Regions from separate parts of the Homo sapiens genome. Here all the other regions are linked to region 3. Evidence: promoter capture Hi-C in 16 types of primary human blood cells and fetal thymus (Javierre and others, 2016). All regions are on one chromosome and are shown on one strand. Each heading gives the region's core, a stretch centred on a gene start or on the middle of the fragment in contact. The rest is flanking DNA. Distances are from core to core; before and after follow the strand shown.

Evidence for each region. The method cuts DNA at HindIII sites, captures the fragments that hold promoters and counts their contacts. A CHiCAGO score of 5 or more calls a contact.
Region 1: a contact is called between a fragment that was not itself captured here and the fragment with the promoter of CDH1 in region 3, in 3 of 17 cell types (erythroblasts, M0 macrophages and M1 macrophages). The highest score is 5.3, in erythroblasts.
Region 2: a contact is called between the fragment with the promoter of ZFP90 here and the fragment with the promoter of CDH1 in region 3, in 2 of 17 cell types (monocytes and fetal thymus). The highest score is 7.1, in monocytes.

What each region holds. Positions count from the first base shown.
Region 1 is chr16:68,518,368-68,521,500 of GRCh38, reverse strand. No RefSeq gene overlaps it. Among named protein-coding and RNA genes, the nearest start is that of ZFP90, 19 kb to the left of the region's middle. RefSeq lists enhancers at 387-436, 477-526, 547-626. The HindIII fragment of the contact is 3,788 bases long and covers 1-3,133 here.
Region 2 is chr16:68,538,026-68,540,953 of GRCh38, reverse strand. ZFP90 (ZFP90 zinc finger protein) reads right to left here and starts at 1,663. Exons shown (of 5, transcript NM_001305203.2): 1 at 1,475-1,663; 2 at 1,129-1,196. The coding sequence starts at 1,161. The HindIII fragment of the contact is 12,761 bases long and covers 1-2,928 here.
Region 3 is chr16:68,735,996-68,738,777 of GRCh38, reverse strand. CDH1 (cadherin 1) reads right to left here and starts at 1,486. Exons shown (of 16, transcript NM_004360.5): 1 at 1,315-1,486; 2 at 367-481. The coding sequence starts at 1,362. RefSeq lists a silencer at 1,371-1,440, a cis regulatory region at 2,393 and an enhancer at 2,321-2,465. The HindIII fragment of the contact is 3,737 bases long and covers 1-2,782 here.

The sequences.
Region 1 (3,133 bases), core at 499-2,998, 220 kb after region 3:
AAAGCAAGAGCCTGTCTCTACAAAAAATACAAAAATTAGCTGGGCATGGTAGCATGAGCCTGTGGTCTCAGCTACAGGAGGAAGGCTAAGGTGAAAGGACGGCTTGAGCCCAGTAGTTCGAGGTTTGAGGCTGCAGTGAGCTATGATTGCACCACAGCACTCTAGCCTGGGCGACAGAGTGAGACCCTGTCTCAAAATAATAATAATAATAATAATGATGATGATGATAATAAAGTGAACACATTGCTTGACTGGGCTTTGCTCATTTGCTTTGCTTTCTTCCATTCTGTTCCACTTTCTCTTCGCTCTGTTTCCAGGTCTGCTGTTGTGTGATCTCCAAGTGACTTTCCCTCTCTGGGTTGCTATTTCATCTGTACAATGCAGGAGCTGTTTTGGCTGATCCAAAACACCATTTTAATTTTTCCTACCACAACTGCTAAGTCCAGTTCAACCAGTGAAGGTGTGACCTGAGCAGAGGTGAGAAAACACGAAGGTGAAAGTAAGCTGGGTCCTTCATCTCTGCCTGGACCTTGGCCTGGGCTCACGGCCTGCCTGGGGCTGATGGCCACAGACCCCCGCCCCCACCCCAGCGTCTGATACGCCGCGCCTGGGGCGATCTTGGTACCTCCCCGCCACCGCGTGGGGACAACACATTCGCAGCTCCGCGGTTACCAAGGCGACCCAGCTGGTGTATCCTCGGTAGCCCCCTAGCGGACACTTATGGAACCTGCAGTTCTTTCCTTTACCTCGGGCGGCGTATTTCACCTGCAGCCCTGTCCAGAGAGGGGGCGGCTCTCTTACCTGGCCTCTGTATTGCTTCTCTCTACCCTGAGCCTGGCCACCCGCCCCACCTCTCCAGACATTTCGGTTTCTCCTCCAGGGACCAGGCTTCTCTGGCTTTGTCACCCAGGCACAACAGCTCTAATTACCCATCCCTTCCAGCCAGGGTCCTGGGGACTTCAGAAGGGCTGTCACCCACGGCACTTCCAAAGTCCCTCTCGAGAGTGTAAAAGTCTGGCCGGGCGCGGTGGCTCACGCCTGTAATCCCAGCACTTTGGGAGGCCGAGGTGGGTGGATTATCCAGCCTGGCCACCATGGTGAAACCCCGTCTCTACTAAAAATACAAAAATTAGCCGGGCGTAGTGGTGGGCGCTGTAATACCAGTTATTTGGGAGGCTGAGGTGGGTGGATTATCCAGCCTGGCCAACATGATGAAACCCCGTCTCTACTAAAAATGCAAAAATTAGCCAGGCGTAGTGGTGGGCGCTGTAATACCAGTTACTTGGAAGGCTGAGGCAGGAGAATCGCTTGAACCTGGGAGGCGGAGGCTGCAGTGAGCCGAGATCATGCCACTGCACTCCAACCTGGGCGACAGAAAGACTCTGTCTCAAAACAAAAAAAAACAAAGAAGAGAGAGTGCAATTTATTATTATTTTTTTCTGAGACAGAGTCTCGCTCTGTCGCCCAGGCTGGAGTGCAGTGGCACTATCTTGGCTCACTGCAACTTCCGCCTCCCGGGTTCAAGTGATTCTCCTGCCTCAGCCTCCAGAGTAGCTGGGCTACAGGGGTGCACCACCAGGCCTGGCTAATTTTTGTATTTTTAGTAGAGCTGGAGTTTCACCATATTGGCCAGGCTGATCTTGAACTCCTGACCTCAAGTGATCCACCTGCCTCGGCCTCCCAAAGTGCTGGGATTACAGGCGTGAGCCACTGTGCCTGGCAATGAGTGTAAAAATCTTATGTGATGTGGAGTAAAATACCCTTCCCTCGGCCAACCCCCTGTCCACACCCCACCCCCAGCAACCCTTGACTCAGACTCTGGCTTTGGGATCCACTTTTCCTTACAGGCCTCGTGCATCTGTGTGATGGAATCCCATAGGCAGCACAGCCCGGCCGGAATCCAGGGAGCCACTAGTGCATGGGGTGGGGCAGCATCACCAGAACTGGGCATACAGCCTCTGTTGGGAGACAGGCAAGCATACAGACAAGCCAACCCAATACAGGACTGGAGGTGGGCAGTCACAAGGTTGGTGGCGCAGTGTGCTGGGAGCACCACATGGAAGGGGGAGGACCACAGCCTGAGCTGGGCAGAAAGGCTTCCTGGAGGAAGTGATGCTTGAGCCTTGAAGGATGAGTAGGCGCTGGCCTGGGGTAGAGATCTCAGTGATGGCTTGAGGGGTGGGGGAGGACTTCTCTTCAGAGTCTACCTTCCTGAGTGTCACTCCTCATCAGGGCCCCTCCTTGCCCTTTTCCTCTTCTCACCCTGTCCCCATTCCCTGGGCAACCTTCCCCAGCCCAGCAAATGTAACCAGCATCTCCTTGTTACACGTGATCCTTTTCTCCTCGTCACAGGCAGTCCCTGGATGTGCCCTGGACTTGCTTGCCTTCCTGGTGAGTTTATTCATCCTTCAAGACCCAGCTAGAAGGCTGAGCACAGTGGCTTATGCCTGTAATCCCAGCACTTTGGGAGGCTGAGGCGGGTGGATCACTTGAGGTCAGGAGTTTGAGACCAACCTGGCCAACATGGTGAAACCCCGTCTCTACCAAAAATACAAAAATTAGCCAGGTGTGGTGGCGGGTGCTCATAATCCCAGCTACTCGGGAGGCAGAGGCAGGAGAATTGCTTGAACCCAGGAGCCAAGGTTGCAGTGAGCAAGATTGCGCCATAGCACTCCAGCCTGGGCGACACAGCGAGGCTCCGTCTCAAAAAGAAAAAGACCCAGCTAGATGTTCACTCTTTCTGGCACCTTCCCAAAACCACCCTTTCAATCCTGTATTTATTCCACAAACTTCTACTGAACACCAGGTATTAGGCCCAGGATGTGGCCCTACATTGCAACTTTTTTTTTTTTTTTTTTGAGACAGGGCCTCACTCTGTCACTCAGGCTGTGGTGCAGTGGTGAAATCATAACTCACTGCAGCCTTGAATTCCTGGGCTCAACCAATCCTCCTGCCTCAGCCTCCCACGTAGCTAGGACAACAGGCGTGTCCCACTATGCCCGGTTAATTTTTGTATTTTTTATAGAGATGGGATCTTGCTTGTTGCCCAGGCTGGTCTTTAACTGGCCTCATGTCATCCTGTCACACTGGCCTCCCAAAGTGTTGGGATTACAGATATAAGACACCGCACCTG
Region 2 (2,928 bases), core at 414-2,913, 200 kb after region 3:
CTGGGTGACAAGAGACCCTGTTTCAAAAAAAAAAAAAAAAAAGGCATGATGTATTGTATGCTTAATTCACTATAAACTGCTCTTTTAAAGGACATTACTAAGTTGGTGTTTTTATCTTTTAAATTTTTTTTTTTTTTTTTTTTTTGCAGAGACGGAGTCTCACTATGTTGCCCAGGCTGGTCTCAAATTCCTGGGCTTAAACGATCCTATTGCCTCAGCTTCCCAAAGTGCTGGACTTACAGGTGTGACCCACTGTACCTGGCAACTTGGTATTTTTATTTGAATTGATCTTGATGTCTCACACACCTAGCAACTACAATCTGTCATTTTCCCTTAATTCTAAAGAGAATGTAGATTCAAAGATACAGATACCATCTGGATCTTGATGTATTTTCACCAATATGTAAATCAATGGATAACCTTAGAGTTGTGACGCTTCTAGAAAATGCCCCCTCTGCCACAAGAATAAATGGGTTCACGAATCAGCCTCACATTAAGGTGAAGGCTGGACTTCTGGCGGTGGGGAGTGAGTTGCTCTATTACATTTTTGTTAAAGCAGAAAAGGACAGACACAAAAAGCTCTGGGAGAATCAGCCCTGGTTTTATTTTTGGTTGTTTTTTATTTTGTTTTGTTTTTGCCTCCTTGCCCAAGAAAGCCCATCTCCAGCCTCTTCCTAGACATGTTCTAACCAGGCTTCTACGGCCCCTTACGGACTCTCTATGGGCCCTGGGTCAGAAGCTGGGGCTCCTCTCTCCACACTTGCCGACAGTCACTTCCTCCTCTACAGTGTTCCATCCTGTGACCCCACTCTCTCCATTTCTTATTGACAAGAGTTCAAAAAACTGGCGTGGCATTCAGGACTCTCAAAACTGACACTTCCCAACGCATCCAATCTCAACTCCTCCCACAAGATCGCACCACACTGGCCCTCTCTACCCCACAGAGCAGCCTCCCCTTTGGGAATCCAGCTCCCCAAAGCCTGGGGTTTTCCATGGCCAGGAGGCTCCGATCGAGCCAAGCAAGTAAGGGAGTCGCCAGGCAGAGAACAATGACTGCTCCAAACACCCTTGGGAGATGGGATGGATAGATGGATGGGATGCCCAGGAGGTTAGGAACGCGTTGCTCACCTGGGGCGCGGCGGTCGGAGGCCTCGGGGCCATTCCTGCCTCGCCAGGGCCCGGCTCCGGGGCAGGAGCTGGGGAGAAAGGACAGGGCCCACTCACCCCGCTGCAACACCGACCCCACCCCGCCCCGCCCCGCCCCACCTCCGCCCCTAAACCACATCTCCAGGGGAGATGGTGGCGAGGACCGTGGAACCAGCCCGGGCCTGCCGCTCCCCATCCCCGAAATGAAAGGCTCAGCGGCCTCCCGGACACCCCCCTCCGGCCACGCCCAGTCCCCTTCGCAGGGTGGTGGGCGAGGCCCGGCTGACACCCGCCAAACCCAGGAGGGGTCCCGCCCAGACCCGCGCACTCAGAATCACCGCCTCTGGGGGGCTCCGGATTTCGCGACCTCCGGCCCACCCAGAGCCTCGGGCAGCTCCTCCCGCCCCCGCCGAAGCCTCGGTTATCTCCAATTCTGATCTGCGGAGGGGCTGCCCAAAGGGGCCTCAGCCGCACCGGGGTCGGACAATGGCCGCAGCGGTGGGGCAGAACTGGAAGTGCGCCTGCGCACTCGGAGCCTCGCTCCTGCAACCCCGGGTCCACGCCGGGCGCGCGAACTACACTTCCCAGAGGCCCGCGCGCGCAGGCCCCGCCTAGGCGGCTTCCGAAGGCGCGTTAGGGACCCTTGCGAGGGCCGAGGGAGGCGGCCAGTGTGGCTCGAGTGTGCGTGTCCCTGTATTCCAGTCACTGTCCGCCTCCTCTTTGCAAGGGGCTTGTTGCTAGCTGGGGAATCGGCCGGGAAAGACCCTGGTTTCGGGGAGCAATCGTACGCCCCTTTCGACGAGGCTGACGATAAAAACGCAAACATGTCAACAAGATAATGTCAGGTCCTGACTTCAGCGGTAAGAGTGACACAGGAAGGGAGTGAGACAGCGTCAGAGGGTGGGGCATTTACATCTTCTTCAAAAGGCAATTTTCCATTTCTCATTTTAGAGAAAAAAGAAACTTCGGACAAATCCGTGGCCTCCTGAGCAATGTGCAAAGGCAGATCTACTGCCGTGTTATTTCATTACTTCGTATCCCCTTACGCAGGATTTTGTTTGGGACAAGCAAACAATGATGGAAATTTTCTTTTTTTTTTTTGAGACACAGTTTCGCTCTTGTTGCCTAGGTTGGAGTGCAATGGCGCGATTTTGGCTCACCGCAGCCTCCGCCTCCTGGGTTCAAGCGATTCTCCCGCCTCAGCCTCCCGAGTAGCTGGGATTACAGGCATGCGATGCGTCACCAGGCCCGTCTAATTTTGTATATTTAGTAGAGACAGGTTTTCTCCATGTTGGTCATGCTGGTCTCGAACTCGCCTCGGCCTCCCAAAGTGCTGGGATTACAGGCATGGGCAACCGCGCCCGGCCCGATGGAAATTTTCAACACAAAGATAGGTCAACTTTTAGATACAGCTATTACGTTTATGTAATTATGTCTTATATATCACAGACATTCAGGCTACATTTCCTAGATTTCAGCTTGATTTCTTAACATTAGAGCATTGCATACCAACATGGTAGAAAATGACTGCAACGAAATGTTCCTGATGTCACACTGCTTTATCAAAAATATGAACATTCAAAAATAAATGCTTTATGCCGGGTGCGGTGGCTCAAGCCTGTGATCCCAGCACTTTGGGAGGCTGAGGCTGGCGGATCACCTGAGGTCAGGAGTTCGAGACCAGCCTGACCAACATGGAGATAGCTCGTCTCTACTAAAAATACAAAATTAGCCAGGCTTGGTGGCGCATGCCTGTAATCCCAGCTACTCAGAAAGCTGAGG
Region 3 (2,782 bases), core at 237-2,736:
GGTTTGCTCAACTGTAAAACGGGAATACTCCTGCCAGGCCTTCCCACCCACCAGGTTTTTGCAGTCTGAAATGAGAGACTGTCTCTACAGTGCTGAGGGCAATAAGAGAAATACGAAGGCTTCTAGTAAGTGCCCTCAACCTCCTCTTCTTTATAACATAGTCAACAACCAGGCAGGGTTACCCCCTCCACCACAGTGTTCAGTCGTAAACGTTTGGATCCCCAAATCTGCGTAAATTCCAAGGGGTGTCGTTTGAGCCAAGGAGGGAGCTTGCCCATTGCAACCCAGGGGTGTGGGAGTGCAATTTCTCGGCCCCTTTCCAACCCCTCCCTACTCCGCCCAGGGACACCGGCAGCGCGCCCTCACCTCTGCCCAGGACGCGGCCTCTCTCCAGGTGGCGCCGGGGCACCGTGAACGTGTAGCTCTCGGCGTCAAAGCCAGGGTGGCAGGGCTCCGGCTCCTGGCAGAGCCAAGAGGAGACCTGGGGTGGGGGAAAGGTAGATGGAACCGGGTGACTCGGAGGGTTCCCTCCTGCTCACCGAAACCAACAGCGCCGCCCCTCCCTCGCTCCCGGCGTCGGGATTGGGGGAGGACCCCAGCCCGCAGCCCCGGGACGGGCGGGCAGCGACGTCACCCTCCCCCACCCCGAAACCTACGGCCGCCGAGCCCCCAGGAACTCCCGGGAGGGGGCCGCCGAGTCACCCCCTCAAGACCTAGCCCACCGTTCCCTTTCAGTCTCCTTTCTCATTTTATTGGAGATGTCTTTATTCTCCAGTACCCCACTTTCCTTAGACCGGGAATGCACCACTCCTCAGAGCGAGGGGCGCTCCCACCTCCTCCGACCTCACTTTCTTATCCCCGGGACCCTCACTCCTATTTACGACCTTTCTTGGCATGGCAGGTGCCTTTATTTCTACGGATGCCCCTCTCCTTCCCTCGAAGATCGTCCCCACGACTCCTGGCTCCCCCTCGACTTGCACCAGGGCACCCCTTCTCCACACCCCACCCCCTACACCCCGCTTCACGCCCCCACCGCCCGCGCGAGCCCACCCCGCGGACTCCGCGGCCAGACGCCCCCGCCTCGGTCTGCGCTGGAGGGGGCAGGAAAGCCGCGCTCGCCCCTCACCACCCACCCCCCACTCCCATCACTGGGGGGTCCGGAGCGCGCGAGGCTTCCAGGCCGCTCCGCTCCTCAGGACCCGAACTTTCTTGGAAGAAGGGAAGCGGTGACGACGGGAGAGGAAGGGGCGCAGGGCTGGGGCGCGGAGCTTGCGGCCCGAATGCGTCCCTCGCAAGTCAGGGGATCCGGGGTACCTGCAGCAGCAGCAGCAGCGCCGAGAGGCTGCGGCTCCAAGGGCCCATGGCTGGCCGGGGACGCCGAGCGAGGGCAGGCGCCGGGTGCGGTCGGGTCGGGCCGGGCTGGAGCGGGCTGGAGTCTGAACTGACTTCCGCAAGCTCACAGGTGCTTTGCAGTTCCGACGCCACTGAGAGGGGGTGCGTGGCTGCAGCCAGGTGAGCCCCGGAGGCACCGCCCCCCGTACCGCTGATTGGCTGAGGGTTCACCTGCCGGCCACAGCCAATCAGCAGCGCGGACCCCTCCCCAGGGCGGAGCTGACGGCCCGCCCACCCGGCCTCGCATAGACGCGGTGACCCTCTAGCCTGGAGTTGCTAGGGTCTAGGTGGGTTATGGGACCTGCACGGTTCTGATTCCACTGGGTTCGAATCCCAGCCCCGCCGGTGGCTCACTAAGACCTGGGATCAGAAAGGGCTTTTACACTTGGCTGAGTTCTTTTGTTTTTTGGGATTTTTTGTTTGTTCGTTTTGGAGATGGGGTCTCACTCTTTCACCCAAGCTGGAGTGCAGTGGTGCGATCACAGCTCACTGCAGCCTCGAACTCCTGGGCTCAAGCGGTCCTCTGGCCCCAGCCTCTCTAGTAGCTGGGAGTACAGGTGCACACCACCACGCCAGGCTAATTTTTTTTTCTTTTGCCTTTTTGTAGAGAGACAAGTCGGGGCGGACAGGGGCAGTGGGGGCGCTGTGTCTCCCTGTATTGCCCAGCCTGGTCTCGAACTCCTGGGCTGAAGCGATCCTCCTGCCTTGGCCTCCCAAAGTGCTAGGATTTCAGGTGTGAGCCATGAGCCACTGAGCTAGCAGCCTAATTTTTTGTTTGTTTGTTTTGTTTGTATTTTTTGAGACGGAGTCTCGCTCTGTCTTGCCCAGGCTGGAGTGCAGTGGCACGATCTCGGCTCACTGCAACCTCCGCCTGCCGGGTTCAAGAGACTCTCCTGTCTCAGCCTATTGAGTAGCTGGGACTACAGGCGTGTGCCACCACACCGGCTAATTTTGTATTTTTAGTACAGACGGGGTTTCACCATGTTGGCCAGGCTGGTCTGGAACTCCTGACCTCAGGTGATCCACCCTCTTCAGCCTCCTGAAGTGTTGGATTACAGGCGTGAGCCACTGCACTCTGCCTCGAGCGGCCTAATTTTTTAAAAAATTTTTCTAGAGAGGGGATCTCACTATGTTGCCGAGGCTGATCTCAAATTTCTGAACTCAGGCGATCCTCCTGCCTCAGCCCCTTTACTGAGTTCTCATTTTTTAATCTAGTCTTTTTTAACTGTAGAGCTTCATGGGTTAGTGAGTCAGCAAATTGATTCCCTAGGTCAGGACCACCTCCCAAAGCCTCAGTTTCTCCACCCTCCTAATGGGAATAATGATCAGAAATGTCTCCCTATGCTGTTGTGGGACTCCCATACAATTAAAATGACAAATGTTTCTTGAG